Linked DNA regions of Homo sapiens: regions 1, 2, 3 and 4 are each linked to region 5. The links are contacts of gene promoters, found by promoter capture Hi-C in blood cells and fetal thymus (Javierre and others, 2016). All regions are on one chromosome and are shown on one strand. The core of a region is centred on a gene start or on the middle of the fragment in contact, and the rest is flanking DNA. Distances in the headings are between cores, read along the strand shown. Region 1 has its middle 51 kb from the start of TRA2B. Region 2 has its middle 51 kb from the start of TRA2B. Region 3 has its middle 4.7 kb from the start of RTP1. Region 4 has its middle 39 kb from the start of ETV5-AS1. Region 5 holds the start of FETUB (fetuin B).

Evidence for each region. Contacts are between HindIII fragments. The CHiCAGO score rates a contact against its expected background, and 5 or more counts as called.
Region 1: a contact is called between a fragment that was not itself captured here and the fragment with the promoter of FETUB in region 5, in 1 of 17 cell types (neutrophils). The highest score is 5.1, in neutrophils.
Region 2: a fragment that was not itself captured here is called in contact with the fragment with the promoter of FETUB in region 5 in 6 of 17 cell types (activated CD4 T cells, total CD4 T cells, naive B cells and 3 more); the score reaches 9.2 in activated CD4 T cells.
Region 3: a fragment that was not itself captured here is called in contact with the fragment with the promoter of FETUB in region 5 in 7 of 17 cell types (naive B cells, total CD4 T cells, total CD8 T cells and 4 more); the score reaches 6.1 in naive B cells.
Region 4: a fragment that was not itself captured here is called in contact with the fragment with the promoter of FETUB in region 5 in 1 of 17 cell types (naive B cells); the score reaches 5.7 in naive B cells.

What each region holds. Positions count from the first base shown.
Region 1 is chr3:185,886,044-185,888,743 of GRCh38, forward strand. No RefSeq gene overlaps it. Among named protein-coding and RNA genes, the nearest start is that of TRA2B, 51 kb to the right of the region's middle. The HindIII fragment of the contact is 8,994 bases long and covers 1-2,700 here.
Region 2 is chr3:185,987,419-185,990,118 of GRCh38, forward strand. No RefSeq gene overlaps it. Among named protein-coding and RNA genes, the nearest start is that of TRA2B, 51 kb to the left of the region's middle. The HindIII fragment of the contact is 1,846 bases long and covers 346-2,191 here.
Region 3 is chr3:187,191,437-187,194,136 of GRCh38, forward strand. No RefSeq gene overlaps it. Among named protein-coding and RNA genes, the nearest start is that of RTP1, 4.7 kb to the right of the region's middle. The HindIII fragment of the contact is 1,787 bases long and covers 532-2,318 here.
Region 4 is chr3:186,038,450-186,041,149 of GRCh38, forward strand. No RefSeq gene overlaps it. Among named protein-coding and RNA genes, the nearest start is that of ETV5-AS1, 39 kb to the right of the region's middle. The HindIII fragment of the contact is 2,208 bases long and covers 272-2,479 here.
Region 5 is chr3:186,638,959-186,641,658 of GRCh38, forward strand. FETUB (fetuin B) reads left to right here and starts at 1,441. Exons shown (of 7, transcript NM_014375.3): 1 at 1,441-1,727; 2 at 2,072-2,182. The coding sequence starts at 1,503. HRG-AS1 (HRG and FETUB antisense RNA 1) reads right to left here. Exons shown (of 3, transcript NR_187317.1): 3 at 2,551-2,665. The HindIII fragment of the contact is 5,467 bases long and covers 1-2,318 here.

The DNA.
Region 1 (2,700 bases), core at 115-2,614, 750 kb before region 5:
TTTTTTGTTTTTTTGTATTTTGTTTTGAGACAGAGTCTCACTCTGTCGCCCAGGCTGGAGTGCGGTGGTGCAATTTCAGCTCACTGCAACCTCTGCCTCCTGGGTTCAACTGATTCTCCTGCCTCAGCTTCTGGAGTAGCTGGGATTATAGGCGTGCGCCACCACGCCCAGCTAATTTTTGTATTTTTAGTATAGACGGAGTTTTGCCATGTTGGCCAGGCTGCTCTCGAACTCCTGACCTCAGGTGATCCACCTGCCTGGGTCCACATTTTGTTTAACTATTCATCAGGAGCTGGACATTTACGTTGTTTCCAGTTTTGAGCTATTAGGAAGAATTCTGCTGTGAACATGTGATTGCATGTTTTTTTGTGTGTGGATATATGTTTTTATTTTTGTTGGGTACATTCCTAGAAATGGAATGGCTGGGTTTTAGAACAAACTTATATTTTAAAAACACTATCTGGCTGAGTGTGGTGGCTCATACCTGTAATCCCAGCACTTTGGGAGGCTGAGCTGGGCAGATCACAAGGTCAGGAGATCGAGACCATCCTGGCTAACACGGTGAAACCCCTCTCTACTAAATACAAAAAGTTAGCTGGGCATGGTGGTGCACACCTGTAATCCCAGTTACTTGGGAGGCTGAGGCAGGAGAATCACTTGAACCTGGGAGATGGAGGTTACAGTGAGCTGAGATTGTACCACCGCACTCCAGCCTGGGCAAGAGAGCAAGACTCCATCTCAAAAAAAAAAAAAAAAGAAAAAAGAAAGAAAGAAAAGAAAAGCCGGGAGCGGTGGCTCACGCCTATAATCCCAGCACTTTGGGAGGTCAAGGCAGGCAGATTACAAGGTCAGGAGTTCAAGACCAGCCTGGCCAGCATGGTGAAACCCTGTCTTTACTAAAAATACAAAAATTAGCCAGGTGTGGTGGCGGGCACCTGTAATCCCAGCTACTCAGGAGGCTGAGGCAGGAGAATCACTTGACCCCGGGAGGCAGAGGTTGCAGTGAGCCGAGATCACACCACTGCACTCCAGCCTGGGTGACACAGCGAGACTCCATCTCAAAACAAAACAAAACAAAACAAAACCTACCTGTTTTCCAAAGTGGCTCTACCATTTTTGTATTTCTGCCACCAGTACGTGAGGGTTCCAGTTTCTCTACTTCCTCACCCACATTTGTTCTTTTCTGTCTTTGTAATTATAGCCATTTTAGTGTGTGTGAAGTGATATCTCATTGTGGTTTAAAGTTGCATTTCCCTAGTGACTAATGATGTTGAACATATTTTCATGTGCTTATTAGCCATTTGCATGTCTTTTTTGGTGAAATGTTTATTCAAGTCTTTTGCCCATTTTTCAAATTGAGCATTGTTTGTCTTATTATTGAAGTGTAAGAGCTCTATATATTCTGGATACAAGTTCTTTATCAGATACGTGATTTGCAAATAACTTCTCTCAATTGATGGCTTGTGTTTTCATTTTCTTAATGTTATCTTTTGATTCCATTGTCACAGATGTCAGCCTAAAACTGGAAGTATTTAAAATTTAAATTGAAGCAAGATTTTACAGTATATGATAAAAATTCATTATATTTTTCTCTTCTATTTTCATACAGCAAAATGCAATATAAACAGTTTTTCACAATAGTAATAAAAATTTAATTGACTTGATTTAAAAGCAAAGATATTGATTTAAAAGCAAAGAAAACGATAAAACTATAATGTGATAAAGGAGTATATGAATATAGAAGAGATAATCCTTGCTTGAGAAGGATCAATATCGTAAAGATGACATTTTCACAGTGAATATATAAAGTTCCATTCAACAAGCATTAAAAAAATTTCTTTAAATTTTTACTTTTTTTTTTTTTGAGACAGAGTCTCTCTTTGTCACCCAGGCTGGAATGTAGCGGCGTGATCTTGGGTCACTGCAACCTCCGCCTCCTGGGCTCAAGCAATTCTCCTGCCTCAGCCTCCTGGGTAGCTGGGATTACAGGTGCCTGCAACCATGACCGGCTAATTTTTTCTATTTTTAGTAGAGACAGGGTTTCACCATGTTGGCCAGGCTGGTCTTGAATCCTGACTTCAAGTGATCTGCCCTCCTTGGCCTCCCAAAGTGTTGGGATTACAGGCGTGAGTCACTGCACCCAACCTCAACAAGCATTTTTAATACTTATTATATGTTAATCATTATATTCAATGCTGTAAAAAAATATATGAACAAGACATTCTGACATTTACAGGTACTGAGACACTGGAGTCACTATGTGGAAAGGAATTAGCTTGGATTTTTACCTTATCTCTTACAATGTAATGAGCCCCAGGTGAATCTTCCATTTATTCCCTCTGTTCTCTTTATGTATTACTGCATAACAAATCACTCTCAAAACCTAGTGGTGTAGAACAACAGTAATTTATTTTGCTTAAGAATATGCAACTTGAGGAGAGCTTGACAGGGATAACCCTTCTGTGTTCTACAATGTCTAGGGCCTGCATTTGGAAAACTCAAATGGATGATAGTGAATCAAATGGCTGGAGGCTGGAGTGCCAAGAGGTATCTTTGCTCACAAGACTGGTCCCTAGACTAGGAAGGGCCTTTAGAATAAATATCTCTGAAAGAAGCAATGAAAGTGACTAGGAGAAGAATGGAAACCTTCAGGAAGAGCTGTAGAGTAGGCAACGGAAAATTAAGTCTGGGCTGGGCACG
Region 2 (2,700 bases), core at 19-2,518, 650 kb before region 5:
ATAGTCATCATTTTTATTTATTTATTTACTTATTTTGGAGACAGGGTCTTCTTTTGTCATCCACAATGGAGTGCAGTGGCATGATCACAGCTCACTGCAGTCTTGACCTCCCAGACTCAAGTGATCCTCTTGCCTCAGCCTCCCGAGTAGCTGGGACTACAGGCATGTACCACCATGCCCGGCTAATTTTTTTTATTATTTTTTAGCAGTGGCAGGGTTTTACCATGTTTCCCAGGCTGGTCTCGAACTCCTGGGCTCAAGGGATCCTCTCATGTCAGCCTCCCAAAGTGCTGGGATTACAGGCATGAGCCACTGCGCCTGGCCTCATAGTCACTCTTTTATTTAAGCTTAGTATCTCCCTGAAAAGTTGGTGTATGTGGCAAAGACTAGCTAGATGTTTACCAATCTTGGTTTCCTTGTCTTCTTTGGTACACAGCTGGACCTCATTTCTCAGCGTTTTTTGCAATTACAAAAACACTGTAATTAAAAAATTAATTACAGCTGTAGGACTGTTCTAGACACTAGCATGTGAGTGGAAGTGGTGTGTGACACTTCTAGGCCTGGCATAAATCTCTTCCACTTGCCACAGTCCTCCATCATCTTCCCCTCACCTTTGGACTGATGTCCATGCTGATGACTTTGGTGGAGCCCAGCCACCTAAATTCCCTCTTAGAGGAGAGCGGCTCACAGATTAGGAGCACCTGTTTTCAATTTTATGTGAACACAAAATAAACTTCCATAACATTAGAGGCAATTGACATTTTTGAGGGTGTGTGTTTATTATAGCAGCTATCATCACCTTAATCAGTACAGTATTTTTATGCCCATTTTATGGAGAAGTAAACTGAGGCCCAGAGAGTCGAGTGACTTGCCCAAGGTCACACAGCTGAAAAGTAATGAATTCGAACCCAGATTTATCTAGCTGTTGAACCCAGATTTATCTAGCTGTTAAACCCAGGATCTTTCTACAATGACACACTGCCTCTAAATTCAACAACACATTCTGTAGTGCCTAGTTTGTGCTTTCTTATCCTATTGGAAACCCCATCCCACCCACATCTGATGGAGCCTCCAAAATACAAGCAGACAGGAGAGAAGAGTTGGGGTAATGGGGGGCTGAATCATCAAGATTTCAATTTAGTATCAAGTTGCTTAGGGGGAAATCCATATGCAGCTCCCAAGTCCTTCTGAAAGCCAGGTGGGGGCAGCTGGCACAGAAAAATGGGGTCTGTAGTTCCCCTGCCTGCCATCAGGGACCTGAAAATCCTAGGGGAGTTTTTAATTCCCAGTGGCACTCTTGCTGGTCCTCTTGTTCATTAACATCTGTGTCCCTCCAATTTGGGCTCTGGCTTGAACTCTATGAACTGCTCAAAGAGGCTCTTGCTACCTCTTTGTTCAAACAGACAATGGCTGCAATAACAAAGAGGAAAATCAGATGCAGGTGAAAGTTTATTTTTAACATTTCCGAGGCCAAATGAGGATTTAACATGAAAATCAGAGCCCTCACTTCCGCCTGCTCTCTCCAAAAGTGGCTGGGGTGCTTTTGGCTGGCCCAGACTCCAACACTCTTGGATCCCTTCCAAATGAGTACACCACTGATGAGGTAGACAGTTTAGTCTTTCTGAGCCTTCTTTTGGCAAGAAATAGACATTTTGTTTGGAGATGAGGTTAAACTTGAACCCGTACATTGTGATTAGCTTAGGAAGCCAGGCTGCCCTGGCCACCCCAAATATGTGAGGTTGTCTTTACATGTTATTTTATTTTATTTTTTTGGGACAGAGTCTCGCTCTGTTGCTCAGGCAACAGAGTGCAGTGGCACAATCTCAGCTCACTGCAACCTCGCCTCCCAGGTTCAAGCAATTCTCCTCCCTCAGCCTCCTGAGTAGCTGGGATTACAGGCATGCACCACTACACCTGGTTAATTTTTGTACTTTCAGTAGAGACAGGGTTTTGCCATGTTGGCCAGGCTGGTCTTGAACTCCTGGACTCAAGTGATCTGCCCACCTTGGCCTCCCAAAGTGTTGGGATTACAGGCATGAGCCACTGTGCCCGGCCCTGTCTTTACATTTTAGTCAAATCAGACTGAAGCCTGAACAAATGTGTAATAAAGTGAAAATTCTTTGAAACCATGAGTCTGAAAGCTCCCTTGGGGATGAGCTCCTAGCTTGCCTCTCTTGTGTGGCTCGTCTGAAGCTTGCAGATGGCAGAGGCCTGTGAGGTTCCTGTGAGAAACAGCAAGAATTACCAGGAGCTGGTGTGCCTGGAGCATCTGCATTGTGCAAGGTACTTAACCCCTTTATCCAGTCATCATAACCATCTCCTGAGTTCAGAATCATTATCAGCAGTGTTTGAGGGAACCAGCCCAGAAAGGTGCGGAGTCAGCCCATTCCTTGCAGAGCATACCTAAGATTATTCGACTCCAAGGCCAATTTTCTTTCCATTGTACCATAGTGTGAATGAGCATTAGTTTTCTGTTCCCTGATTTCCCACCTACCAGCAGGAAGCAGAAAAGTGCAGAAATGGTCTTGTGCTTTTGTCCTCCTGAGAACCCAGCAGTGGTAGCTTTCCTGTAGAAACTCAGAAAGGAGAAGTTATGGGTTCATGATAGCCATGATTATAATAAAATGGTTCCAGGAAACTGAACAAACCAACAACAACAGCAACAAAACCCGAAATGGCTTGCTCTTCTTCTTATGCTTC
Region 3 (2,700 bases), core at 175-2,674, 550 kb after region 5:
GTTGCTGTTGGGGTGGAGGGGAAGCAAAGGAAGAGGTTCTTATAAATCATGACTGGGCATGCAGAGGTGGGTGGTACTGGCAGGCTGGGTACCTGTAATGCTTTCCTTTGCTTTGACCCAAAGGGAGCAGCCCTACTGTTCCTATCTGGCTATGTTTTGGGATTGGACTTGCTGGATTAGTTTACTCTTTGGCTACTTTGCCTTTTTGATCCTTAGTTTGCTTTTTTTTTTTTTTTTTTTTGCAAAATAATGTCAACCTCTACCTACATCATAGAATTGGACATCGTGTTCTCAAGGCACTAAGCTCTTTGAAGGATGAAGAAAAATAATCAGGTACTGTGGTAGAAAGTCTCCAAAGATGGCTGCCACCAATTCCTTCCCTTCCTATAGGCACAGGCAATTTCCCCATCAAGAGTTGAAGTTTATTTCCCATTCCCCTATATCGGGCTGGCCCTGTGATTGCTTTCATCAACAGAATATGACAGGAGTGATGTTATGGGACTTCTGACTCTAGCCTTAAGGAGGACTGGAAGCTTCCATTTATTCTTCCTAGAATGAATCTTCTTGGAAACAAACTACCATGTAGTGAAGAAGCCTGAGCAGCTAAAAGGAAAGACCCAAGTGGAGAAATACCATAATGGTGAATAAGGCATTATGAAAGTTCACAAATGGCAGAGGCATTGTGGAGAGGAAGGGAAGTCCATATTCACGGTAATTGTTTCTTCCAGTGAAAACAAAGGTCTATCCCTTCCTTGATGGAAATGGTCCAGTGTAATCAACTTGCCACCAGGTCGTTGGTTGTTTCCCATGGAATCATGGCCCAATCAATTGTTCAGTGTTGGTCTCTCTCTGTTTTTGGAATTTGGGCATTGTATTAGTCCATTCTTGCACTGCTAAAAAGAAATACCTGAGACTGGGTAATTTATTAATATAAAGAAAAGAGGTTTAATTGGCTCAGGGTTCCATAGGCTGTACAGGTAGCATAGCTGAGGAGGCCTTAGGAAACTTACAATCATGACGGAAGGTGAAGGAAAGCAGGCTTGTCTTACGTGGCTGAAGCAGGAGGAAGAGAGAGCGAAGGGGGAGGTGCTACACTCATTTAAACAACCAGATCTCATGAGAACTCACTCACTATCACCAGAAGAGCAAGGGGGAAATCCACCACTATAATCCAATCACCTCCCACCAGGACCCTCTTCCAACATTGGGGATTACAATTCAACATGAGATTTGGGTGGGGACACAAATCCAAACCATATCAGGCACTTAGCAGTGGATTTAGAGAATTCCTTATATACCATTGTGATATTCCATATAGCATTGCTTCTGACTGGCAACTCATTTCAAAGTAAAGGAAATCTGGCAATGAGCTCACACTCATGAAATTCATTAGTCTTAACTATATCACCCATAATCCTGAAGTAGTTGGCCTGATTGAACAATGTGGTGGTCTTTGGAAGACTCAGTTATAGAATCAGCTGGGGGACAGGACCTTGCAGGGCTAGGATAATGTTCTCCAGGATGTGGTACATGCTCAGAATTAGCAACCATGATGATATAGTGCTTAGTTCCAAGAATTAAAGGGTAGAATGGACTGGCTTTCTCAAAATTAGCCCTAATGGTAAACTAGTTTTTTTTCCCTTTTCTTTCTGTACCCATAACTTTGATCTCTGCTATTTTAGAAATCTTAGTACCCAAGGAAAAAAAATGTTGCCATTAGAGAAGAAAATTAAAAATTCCTTTAAAGTTGAGACTACTACATGGGCTCTTAATATCATTAAATCAACAGATGGAGGGGCTTACTGTTCTGGTCCAGCAATGTTGGGGCATTCTGGAAGGAAAGAGTCTTTGTTTTGGGACTGTGAGGCACATTTAGATCTTTGGTACAGGGTACCAGTAGAAACTTCCAGTCATGGGTCCAGCCCTAAAACACACCCCTCCTTCTTCTCAAATGCCATTTAGGGATAGAAAATTGTGCATAGTTGAGAATTTTTCATGAGTGCATCATTTCAAGAAAAAAAATTAGAGGCTTGTTTTTTCTTTTCATTGCTCTATTTTCTAGTTGGGAACTTAATTTAAAGCATTTTATCCACTTAAAACATGATCACAAACTTTAAGAAATTGACCAGGGTGAGGCCAACAGCTTTAGAGATGTCTGAATTGGCCTTCTCTAAATTGTAGATTCCATGGTGTTAGAGGTCATTTGATAGAGAGCAAGTTGCAATACCACAGTATTTTTTTCTGTCTTGATAGAAATTTTTATTAGAGAAAATACTCTGCTATCCAGAAGGATGCATTATATTGGCCTCTGCACAGCAAGCTTGGGTTCTAAATAAAACTTAATTTGTGCCAATGGGGATTGCATCAGCTGGTTACACACACACACACACTCACACACACACACACACACACCCCTCTGGTGATTCTTACTTTCTGTCTTCTGTCATCATAGTGTTTATTGTAGCAACACCTGCAAAATACTTCTAGAGGATTTGTTCTGGGTAGCACTGTTTGTTATAAGCTCCTCTCAGCTTCACGTATTTTCTGGGAAGGTCCACAGCCCCCATTCTCATTTTGGCCAGTAACTCCCACCTGAGGCAGTTCCCATCATATCTGTGAGGTTTGTTAAACGAGTTTACTTATTTAGGTGTTGGTTGCCTTAATTCAGAGGTAAGAATACTGACTTGAAGGACTGAAAGT
Region 4 (2,700 bases), core at 126-2,625, 600 kb before region 5:
TGTTGTTCGCTGAAGGGCAGAGAAGTGCCTTGCTGGTTGCACTTGCTGGAAATCTACCCTATTGGCTGCCAGGGAAAGTTGCTCAACCCACCCTGCTACAAAACTGACTGGAAGGGTGGGGGCCAAGGGAAGCTGCCGGCTGCTGGGTGCTGCTGACTACTGTGCACTGCAGTAGCTGGGCACTGGAGAAGCTGTGATCCTTGGAGGAGGCTGCACATGGGAACTAGGAAGTAAAATGCTTTTCTCTTTCAGTATCACTCTAGCACCCCAAAGCTTCAGCGCCAGCCACCAAAGGAAAAATGTTTAAAGGGCCCAGATCAACTTTACAGAGGAAACAGACAAGGGTGAATTTGAGCTGAGAGGCAATATATAGATAATGGGCACAGCCACACTGCAAGGAATGCTGGGAAATATAGCCCACCCGCATATTTACCTAACAATCTTATTACTGAAAGAGAAGAAAAATGATTTTGGTGGACAGGTAGCACTCTCTGCCACATGATATTTCTTAGACTTAAAATGGAAAAATAGGAATAGAATTGATGCTAAACCCATCTCATTCTTGCAGTGAACTAGTGGACAAAACCAATAACACTCCCATCTAGCTCATTCAGAGATTCAATTCAGACAGATTTTTACTTTTTATGTTTAATAAGTGTATATCAGATTTGGTGATATATTTATGTTTTTTGATCAATTGTGAACTAATACTTGTAATCACTAAATACAGAATAATTTTTAAGATATATAGCTTTATTGTCAAAGGAAATTATCTAAAATAATTTGTTGTATACAGGTATAATAGAGTAAAAAAAAAATTTTTCTTTTGGGATGGAGTTTCTTTCTTGTCGCCCAGGCTGGAATGCAATGGCACAATCTCAGCTCACTGCAACCTCCACATCCCAGGTTTAAGCAATTCTCCAGCCTTGCCTCCTGAGTAGCTGGGATTACAGGTGCCTGCCACCATGCCCAGCTAATTTTGCATTTTTAATAACTAAATTGTGATAATATTTTTAAATGTCAGAATTTATAATAAATGGGAAATTATTTTTACAATACGGTGGAAATTATTAAGGGTCGACTTAAAACAGTGCTAAAGGATACCTAGATTTTCAAAATTCTTTTAGAGAGAAGGTAAGGAAAAAATGTGAAAACTACTGATCGAATTCATCATTTCATCCTCAACATCTGGCTCAGAACGCAGTACATAATAAGTGCTCAATAAATATTATTTGAATAAAGATAAGAAAGAATGAATGGTAAACAGAGGGGTACATACAAATAATGCCCAATGTAGACAAAGGTTGTAAGAACCTAGGCGAAAGAAGTTGCAGGATACTAGTAAAGGTACAAATCCTCACAATCTTTCTGGAAGGCTTTTTGCAGTCTATATAAATGGCTTTAAAATTTGCCCCCCTTTTGACCAAATCATATATCTTCTAGGAATTTATCCTGGAAGTCGTAAGTGAACAAAGATGCTCATAACTGCACTCAGTCAGTCAATACATATTTCTTAATCACCTACTCTTTATCGTAGATAAAGCAGTTAGGTACGGTCCTGCCTTCATAAAATGTACCGTTTATTGGGGGAGGCCAAGTAACTAATGTTGCAAATGAAAGGTTAAAAATTGTGAGAAGTTCTATAAAAAATAGATAGCAAGCACTGAAAGAGTATTAAAATGGTGTTGGAGGGGAATGAGAGCAAATCTTGGAAGGCTTGGAAAATGCAATTATTCATTTATTTGAAAGATAAACTGATTGTTTTCCCTGGGGTGCTCTTAGAAATGAGAGTAAAGAATGGGTGGAGGGTAAGCTGCTTGGAGGCCAGAGATGGATTCAGGGGCGGGATAACATTTCAGCTCCAGGGAATAGCTCGTGTCAAGGATGGAACAGGAGGGATCAAGGTATGGTTGAGACACTGGAAGAAGGCGAGGGGCTGTGGAACATATATTACAGGGGAGAGGATGGTGCATGGTGAGGCTGAAGAGGTATTGCCAAAGGCCAAGTTCAGGATTTTGGTTTTATCTCAAACAATGACTATATTTTCAGAGGAATAATTAACATAAAATAAAATGCACAGACTTCAGGTGTTCAGTTCAATGAATGTTAACAAACATATACATATAACAGTCACCCAAACCAAGATATAGACAATTTCTGTCAATCACCCCAGCATGTTCCCTCTACCCCTTTCCCGCCAATACCTGTCCACCCATCCCTTGCTACCGCTTTCTATCACCATAGGTTAGTTTTGGCTATTCTAGAATTTCATATATTATAGAATAACACAGTATGTATTCTTTTGTGTTATTATTTAGTTTAACATAATGTTTTTGAGATTCATCCATACTGCTATGTGTATCTGTAGTTCATTTTCTTTTATTGCTGAGTAGTATTCTGTTGTATGGATACCATGACTTGTTTATTTGTTCTCTGGTTGACGGGCATTTGGGTTGTTTTGAGTGGCTGTTGTAAATAAAGCTTCTATAAATGTTCTTGCATACGTCTTTTTGTAATACATGTTTATATCTCTTTTTGGCAAATACTTAGAATTGGAATTGCTGGATCATAGAGTAGATGTATGTTTACCTTTGTAATAAACTGCCAAATAGTTTTCCAAAGTTGGTTGTACCATTTAACACTCCTGCCTGCATTGTATACTTGCCAACATGTGGTGTTGCTGGTCTTTTTTACTTTAGC
Region 5 (2,700 bases), core at 191-2,690:
ATCTTTAGATTTGGGTTTTTCAATCAATCCTCAAAAACTATTTCTCTCCAGAAATTAATTAGGGCTGTGCCTCAGTTAGTTTTATGTAGTTATAACAGAATATCAGAGACCAGGGAATTTATAATGAACAGAAATTACTTTGGCTCATGGTTTGGGGGGCTGGGAAGTCTAAGATCGAGGGGCTATACCTGCTGAGAGCCTTCATGCTACATCATAACATGGTGGAAGGCATCACACAGGTGAAAGGAAGAGAGAAGGGGACCAAACACATCCTTTTATCAGGAACTCACTTTCAAGATAATGGCATATTCCATTCATGAGGGTGGAGCCCTCATCAGGATAGGATAATCCTCTCAGCATTACACAATAGCCACCACTGTGTACCAGCAAGCACACAGAAGGATTCAGCAGTTCCTAAACTTATTTGAATGCAGAATCCTTGGACAGGGACAGGAAGGAAGAGAAGGGCTAGGAGTAGGGAGAGAGTTAGGGGGTGGTTACTCACCTCATGGACTAGGGCTTTATAGAATGCCCTTCATGATAACCTCTTCTAGAGGCTTCTTTCCCATTTTGTCTCTTTTCTCTCATGACAAACTACTGCTGATATGTGTTTTTTGTTGAAATACAGTTTTTAAAAGATAATTGTCTTTTGTATGGTCCCAATAAGTAGAACCTTTCTGAATCACAAATAGAAGCTAAAAAAAAAAAAAAAAAAAGAAGGCAAGAGTCCCAACCAATGTGTTGCCACCCACCTGCCCTTCAGTATCTTTCTTTTAGCAAGAGTATGGGGCTTTAGTCTCTTAATGAGCTTGCTTCCATACATATGCATAAAAGGAAGAATAGGCTTGAAATACAATGTGAGAACTTTTTATATCTCTTTGACTTTTTCCCCTTAAGTAAAGTCATTGTTTAAAAATAACTTAAATGATGATAAGTAGAACATTTTCCACCCAGATGGCCAAAGTGCTTAAGGAATCTCAACTGTGCTTCTGGCAGATGACTGTGGGGTTCAACTACCTCCCTGATCTAACAAGGGCTTTGCACACAGAGTGTCAGCCAGGAAGTCTGAATTCACCAAGCACCACTGGGACATAAGATAACTATTAGAGTGGCCAAGGAGACCTCCACAGCAAAGGTGTTAGGGGAGAGGGGGAGAATGGGACAGTCCTCCATATTCCTATTCAGGAGGGGACCTGCAAATCAGAATCTAATCATAAGAGCCTTGAACAAATGTTATGATTTCTCAGGAAACAGTTGGGAAACTTAAATTCATTTGTATGTACAGGTGGATATGAGGTTGCTCAAGGGTCTAAGGTTAGAATCATTGGGAAATGCTATCCAAAGTACTGACTTAGGAAAATCCAAGTTCAGAATTCAAGGTGAACTTGGTTAGCCCTTCCAGTTGTAACAAAACCGCTCAAGTCTGCCTTAAAGAGCCTTACAAGCCAGCCAGTCCCTGCAGCTCCACAAACTGACCCATCCTGGGCCTTGTTCTCCACAGAATGGGTCTGCTCCTTCCCCTGGCACTCTGCATCCTAGTCCTGTGCTGCGGAGCAATGTCTCCACCCCAGCTGGCCCTCAACCCCTCGGCTCTGCTCTCCCGGGGCTGCAATGACTCAGATGTGCTGGCAGTTGCAGGCTTTGCCCTGCGGGATATTAACAAAGACAGAAAGGATGGCTATGTGCTGAGACTCAACCGAGTGAACGACGCCCAGGAATACAGACGGGCAAGTAGGGACAGTTCCCACTCTGGGGCAGGGATGTGGGCAAGCTGGAGAGACTGGCCAGGGTGAGGGAACCCAGAGACACCCTGGCAGGTGTTTTCTGTATTGGAAGCCCTGCCGAGAACTCTCTGTTCTCCTCTGCCAGGGTCAGCAACAACGCACTTATTGTTAGTAAAAACAAGTGTTAACAGTGATCCTACTCTGACACTTGTGTCAGATTTAATGGTTTACGGGGAATCTTCACAAATATTCTTTGGCTTTGCCATAAAGCAGGGGTTTTTTTGTGTGGTCTTTCTAGGTTTCTACTTCCTGTGAAATGTATTGCATTTCTCTACCCCTTCCCACAGGGTGGCCTGGGATCTCTGTTCTATCTTACACTGGATGTGCTAGAGACTGACTGCCATGTGCTCAGAAAGAAGGCATGGCAAGACTGTGGAATGAGGATATTTTTTGAATCAGTGAGTGCTTGTTTTTATAAACCATTAAGGGCCCTAGGGAAAGCAAGTAGGTACACTCTTTCTACAGGGTCAAGGGTGCTCAATATCTGTCATCTTTTAAATGGCCCACTTTATAATCTCCTGGCAGGTGCCCATAAGCTTATTCTAATGCTCTAGACAGAACAAAGTTTAATTCATGAGAGGGGTTTCTGAGAAGTCCCATTGGGGTCATGCAGAACAGAATGGAAAAGTTGCCCCAAGTTGTGTTTTTACCTCCAAGACCTTCCGTTAGGCTCTGAACCAGTGTTTCAATTGTGAGAAAAAGACCTGAGGTGTGAATATTCTGGACGTGGGGTTAATGTAGACTGCAGAAGTGATGGAGGTAGAGCTTTGTCTATTTGTTTTATTTTGCTTTGTTTCAATAAACTCCGATGCCAGGTTTGAGGGGAGGAAAATGGATGACTTGCAGTATGAAAGCTCTCAAGGGCGCCGTGTAAGGATTTCCTGAAACCACAGAGCATAATAAAGGGCCTCAGAAT